Linked DNA regions of Homo sapiens: region 1 is linked to region 2. Evidence: promoter capture Hi-C in 16 types of primary human blood cells and fetal thymus (Javierre and others, 2016). All regions are on one chromosome and are shown on one strand. Each heading gives the region's core, a stretch centred on a gene start or on the middle of the fragment in contact. The rest is flanking DNA. Distances are from core to core; before and after follow the strand shown.

Region 1 (3,231 bases), core at 684-3,183, 420 kb before region 2:
TTTACTAATTTCTTGTCTTATAATTAATTGCTTAGTTTTAGTGTGACTTTAAGGAATCATTGAAAAATATTCTTAACTCATCAACTAGCCATAGATTCCCACTAACTCCCAACCCCATTTTTCATTCTGACCTGAGAACCAAGCCTTTTGTCCAAATATACACAAAGTATAAAATCATTTCCATCAGATCTGGAAAATCTTTTAACCTCGATACTTACAATTCACTCCTAGGAATTAGCCGTCACAGTCAGGCATGAGTTAACAGAGAGCGAGAACCTGTTCTCCTATTTTTCAAACATTTCTGGGGAGAGATGAATTTTCATATTCCAAATTTATATGACAGTGAATCAGGATGATCTCTCTCTCTCTCCCACCCCACCTTTCTCTGGGTGTTAATCACTCATTGAAAAGCTTTTTAAAGACACAGTTCAATATTTTTTTACTGACTCACTGTTAATAAAATTGCAGGTAGTAATTGCAGTCCTTGATTCCTTATGTTAGCACTACTGTATTTCTAAATCATTTAAAAGTGATATAAACAATTTTCTGAAAGTGTGAAAATGCACTATTCCTTGTACATTAAGGTACTGTCACTGCCAACCATCAATAGGACTTGCTTAGTCATTAGTCCTGTACTCCTGCCGAATTAATGTTGAGCCATCTACTTTCTCACCTCAACATCTGCCTAAGTTTAAGCAGGGGTAGTACACAGAATTATAAAGAAAGCAGGAATATTTGGCCCAGAATCCAAAGCTAAAATGTGTCCTTTACTGTCCTGGCTTTCCCACGTGTTGAATTGTACATCTGAGAGAAACTGTGTAGAAACAGCCAAGTTTGATAACAGGGGAGTCCTCACATATAGCAAGTCTAAAATTTCATTAAGTGTTGTTTGGGATGCTATTAATGTTATTACTGTAATACAAACATCAAAGGAAATCAGATCACACACTCAGGGAAATCATTCCCTGCTGGAAATCCTGTTAGCTGACTTCAATTATGCTGTGCTTTTCCTCATTCAGAAGGCTGTGTCAGCCTCATTATCTGATCTCTAAATCACCTGCTTAATGAAAGCGCACACATTTGAAACTCATCAAATTAAATAAAACAAAATTTGAATCTTGTGCTTGTTTGGGTTCAGATCACAGCAATATCAAAATTATTCTGATTGCTATAAGGGTGTCTATGGACAGTAGTTAAGGACATAAGTAGGATTGAATCAAAATTAGAAAGAGAGCCTTTCAGAAGGGAAGGAAGGCTTATAGGAAACCAAAGTAGATGTTTCTTTCAAGATTAGCATCAATTTTGTAAAGTATAATTCAAGATCTGTTAACTTCCCTCTATTATATTCCCCGAAAGGAAAACACAAGCATACAATATATGTATCCTTCTTTTGTTTTCACTTTTATTATGAAAAATGTTAAACATATAGAAAAGAAGAGGGACTAGCATAATAAATACATACATATCACCTTTAAAAAATAATTGTTGGTCAAGTGTAGTGACTCATACCTATAATCCCAGCACTTTGGGAGGCCAAGGTGGGAGGATTGCTTGAGCCCAGGAATTTAAGACCAACCTGAGCACCATGGCAAGACTGTGTCTCTACGAAAAATTTAAAAATTATCCAGGTGTGGTGGCACATACCTGAGCTACTTGTGAGGCTGAAGTGGGAGGATCACTTGAGCCTGGGAGGTTGAGGCTGCAGCGAACCATGTTTGCCCCACTGTACTGCAATCTGGGCAACAGAGTGAGACCCTGTCTCATAAAAAATTATTATTGTGGCATATTTGTTTCATAAATCTAAAGTATTTTAAAACATTATGGAAACCATGATATTTCACCCCCAAATATTTCAAAATGCATCCCTGAAAAACCAGGGTATTTTACTATAACCCACAATTTTATTATCATACCTTATGAAAGTAACAATTATTCCTTATTAGCATTTAATTTTTAGATAATATTTAACGTTCCTCTACTGTCCTAAAGAAGCCCTTTAGAGTTGGTTTATTTGAACCAGGAAATGCACTTACTCTTAAATATCACAAGTCTGACTTTAAGTTAAATGTATTCATGGGTGTATTAATCCGTTTTCACACTGCTATAAAGAGCTACCTAAGACTGGGTAATTTACAAAGAAAAGAGGTTTAATTGACTTACAGTTCTGCAGGCTGTACAGGAAGCATGGCTGGGAGGCCTCAGGAAACTTACAATCATGACAGAAGGTGAAGGGGAAGCAAGCATGTCTTACCATGGCAGAGCAGGAGAGAAGGAGAGAGCGAAGGGGGAAGTGTCACACACTTTTAAACCATCAGATCTGATGAGAACTCACTCACTATCACGAGTATTGCAAGGGGAAAATCTGCCCCCATGATCCAATCACCTCCCACCAGGTCCCTCCCCTAACATTAGGGATTACAATTCAACATGAGATTTAGGTGGAGACACAGAGCCAAACCATATCGATGGATATCTTTATAAATTTTAACAATGCATATACGACTTTCAATTGTACATAAAATGTGGCCAAAGAAATAAATTCACCTCCTTATTTTTCAGGCATTGAGTTGCCTGTATCCAACATTTCCTAGCATTTAATTCAAAATGTTTTTGCTCTCTTTGTTTTAATTTCCACAAAACTATTGTAAGAAGCCAAAGAGGGGTGGAAATGTTTTCCACTGCTAAACAAGTAGAAAAGCCTTCTCACTATCTCAAAAGTTATGACACATGTGTAGAAACAAATGTCAAGGGTAAAATGCCTTGAATATTCCGTATCACTCTGATACATTTTAGTCCAAAACATTGATTATGAAAATAACTTGATTCACTCAATATGTCTTGTGTAGATCCTAGTAATTTCATTGGCAGCTATAGAAAGGAGCTATTGAGAACATTCAGACAGCCTCTCTGAGAACTTGTCGAAGACGCCCAGTTGCTAGCTGGTGCCTCGGATCTGTGGGACACACTGTGTCTGCACCTTGCCAGCCAGGATTGGTCGGGGAGAAACTGAATGTGTCACCCAACAGGCTCTTCTTAGTGGCCTCACAACATGAGAATGTGGATAGCTTATTTTGGAGAGGAATCCAGAACACATTTTGCTCTCCACTTCACTGCAGCATGCCAGTCACTGGTATGTAACACTGGATCAAGGCAAGCCTGGGAACACGCTATGCAAGGAAAGTTTTTCAACCCCAGTAACTAATTCTTCATCACTGACCCACCAATTGTGTC
Region 2 (3,528 bases), core at 694-3,193:
AATGAACAAATGAATAGAGTTTATCATTACTTTTGGTTTCAAACTTAGATTTCCATGAATTCTACCACCCCCTAAATTATGCACATAATCTCATCTTTCTAACACTCTTTAGTGGGAAAGGTAGGTCAAGACAATACCAATCCCCTGATATGTCCATCTATTGCGCTTTCAATTCACCACTACAAATTCTACAAATTCGGGTTTAAGTTTTTGGCATGAACAATGTGGAGAAATTTTCTTCAGAAAACAGCATCTAGTATCTTTATGTTGCTGGAGTTGCATTATGTGGCTCTGATTAAACTAGAGTAACATCTGTAAGCTGTCTCCTTTACATCTTTCAGAAGGGTAGTTAGAAGCAGATTTCTCTTGAATTAATAGAATTTGAGTCAATGGGATTGCATCTGTGTCCCCTTAAATCCTATTATTTTCTGGGCTTGGATTCACCCTGGCACAAGCTCTTTCTGGCACCAGATTTTGTTCATTCTCTCTTAACTGGCACAGCTACTAGGTAGCTTTACACACCTAATGTAGCCTAGGAGCTTGGATGATTATGCTTATGCTCTATCTGAATCCAAAAACAACCTAATGAAGCTTTTAATCTTGGAAAATAAGTCATATAGCATTATAAATCTCAAGTTCTATTGGTAAAAAGATAAAGTCCAAAATTTTACTTTGTATTTCTCAGTGAAAATTTTATCTTTAATACTACTAATAATAGCTAATGCTTGTATGGTATTTACCTTATGCCAGACACGGTTCTGAGTGCTTTACATTTACTTACTAATTCTCACAAAGCCATATTAAGTATATACAGTTATTCATTTAAGTAGACATGAAACTGAATCACAAACAGAGTAGGTAATTTGCCAAAGATCATGAAAGCTAGGACATGGCAGAGCTGAGATTTCACTTCAGATATCTGGCCCCAGACTCTGTGCTATTAGTGTTATGCTGCCTCTCACTTAGAAACCTTTCCTAAAACAAGAAAAGATTTTTAAAAGTGGGCTCCTTGGAAATAGATTTTGGTATTTTACATACTAAAATGACATAATCAAATATTTTAGAGTTTTACATTTTTAAATGAAACCATAAATGAACATTTTTGTTTAGAATTGTCTTATCGATAAAGTGAGAATATTATTTTTATGTTTTCTTCCCACCCCCACCAACACACAAATATATATTAAAAATATAGGTAAAACTGTTTTAATAGAGGCTTCATTATCAAACTTGGGTTTTCAAAAAAACAAATTAAAGTTACTCTTTACCTCAGATGAGCTGCTATTAGTCCCATCTGTGCAAATTTTCATATTACTTTGAATTTTATTAAAACAGAAATTGAACATAAAATATTGTACTTACCTTCTTGGGCATGTAAAACTTAAATGTGAGCATCCTGGTGAGTTTGGGATTCTTGTAATTCTAAGAAAGTATAATGCATTGTTATTAAGAAATGATCTCCAGCTAGATTACTAAATGTAATAATTTTAGTAAGAAAGGAAATATACTTACATTAATTCCATTCAAAATCATCTGTAAATCCAGCAGTAAATGCTCCAGTTGTAGCTGTGTTTTCTTTGTAGAACTTGAAGTAGGTGCACTGTTTGTGACAAGTGCAAGACTTAGTGCAATGCAAGACAGGAGTTGCATCCTGTACATTGTGGCAGGAGTTGAGGTTACTGTGAGTAGTGATTAAAGAGAGTGATAGGGAACTCTTGAACAAGAGATGCAATTTATACTGTTAATTCTGGAAAAATATTATGGGGGTGTCAAAATGTTTTACATATTACACATATTTTCAAAGACTTTACCTGTCTGAAAAAACATTACCTTCATTTTTCCTCTTCTGATGACTCTTTGGAATTTCTTTAAACCCCCAAAGACTGACTGAATGGATGTAGGTGAAATCCCTCTTTGTTACATTAGCCCACACTTAGGTGATAGCTCTAATTCATGCAATTAACGCCTTCTGTATGAAACAGTTTTTCCTCCTTTCTTTAAGGGGGTGGGGATACAAAAGTAACTCAGAAAATTTTCTTTGTCATAAAACTACACTGAACATGTGAATAGCATATTGTGGTGGACAAGAGCAAGAGTAAACAGATGAAAAGAATAAATGTTTAGATTTGTTGATAAAACAGGAAGTGTATTGGTTTCCTGTTTCAGAATGGTTTTACCTTTTTATCCACACAATGAGCTAATTGCATACAATAAGATAGATTGCTTCTTACATGTCAGCTAGAGAAATACTAAGATTAGAATACTTAAAATGCTTATTGAGCTTGAGGTACTGTTTAACGCTATTTTAATTTAAAATGATTATATATCTGTTTAAGTCTCTTAATGTCTATTGTACATTTTTTAAAGGGTGCGATTGTTAAATACTCAGAAAAAGGTTTGCATTCAAGGATACTGATGCTAGTTTTATAATAGACTTTGTATGTGTTATGTGTAAACCAGTCCATGTTTCTCGTTTTTATGTCTTTACCTCTTTAATGGATTTTTATTTATCCTCTAAATCACCTGGGACACTATGAATGTAACAATAATCGTTATGAAATATGATCTTGTTTTTAGTCAGAAGACTAGGATATTTAGGATAGGTGTTCATTCATCCTCAGTACAGTGCACAAACTGGCTGAACAATTGTACGGATATATACTTCTAATTTAACCTGGGGACACTTGAGGAGATCCTGTCTCAGAGAGAGTCCTTGTAAAGCTTCCATTCTATGGCCTTATTTATTTCTTACCTGGACTTTTTTTTTTTTTTTAAAGATGGTATTGTCTGTGTTTTTGTTTGTTTTTTTAAGACAATATTGTCTGGTCTTTAAACAGACATCTAGCACCTATAATGCCTTCAGGTATATAGAAAGAGAGAAAAGAGAACAGTGTACAGGCAGGCACTTAGTCTAATATAAGTCTTACAGACTTGTGAAGTGATGGCTCCTATTTTGCAGATTAGAAAACTGAGGCTCAGAGAAGTTAAGTAATTTGCTCTAGGTCACTCAGCCCTTATTGCCAGTAAGGGGCAGAAGAAGGATTTGAAAAGAGAATGTTCTGACTCCAAAAATCCACTCTCTTACCATTTGTATTTTTTCAAAGAACCTGATTTGTAATAGGGAAGATATGTACATACACAAGTGTAGTCCTGGGTGATAGGTGATTGCTGCCCCAAGGGAGGTGGATATAAGGAATCTTGAATAAGGAACAATTAATTTAAACTGGATTTTGAGGAGGGTGCATAGGCAGGAATGATTAAAGCAGTCTAAGGAACAGTCAAATGTAATATTTTACAAAGAACAGAGAAAAATGGTTCAATAAGAGTTTTCTATGCGTTAGGTAATGTTCGGAGAATATAAAACAAATTTAAAAATAAAGATTATAGTCCCTCAAGTAGAAAAAAAAATGAAGAAAAGGTCAGATTAGGGCCAAATCTCATGAACTTTTTATACGAAAAAATGCAAAATGTCTCTATACATTTCAGATCAAAATCACATTAACGCTGTTATAAGGGGCAGGCTATTTG

Evidence for each region. The method cuts DNA at HindIII sites, captures the fragments that hold promoters and counts their contacts. A CHiCAGO score of 5 or more calls a contact.
Region 1: a fragment that was not itself captured here is called in contact with the fragment with the promoter of IL2 in region 2 in 1 of 17 cell types (endothelial precursors); the score reaches 5.1 in endothelial precursors.

Annotation. Positions count from the first base shown.
Region 1 is chr4:122,038,467-122,041,697 of GRCh38, forward strand. No RefSeq gene overlaps it. Among named protein-coding and RNA genes, the nearest start is that of TRPC3, 88 kb to the left of the region's middle. The HindIII fragment of the contact is 3,049 bases long and covers 410-3,231 here.
Region 2 is chr4:122,454,782-122,458,309 of GRCh38, forward strand. It overlaps IL2 (interleukin 2), which reads right to left and starts at 1,944. Exons shown (of 4, transcript NM_000586.4): 1 at 1,513-1,944; 2 at 1,363-1,422. The coding sequence starts at 1,659. The HindIII fragment of the contact is 2,130 bases long and covers 590-2,719 here.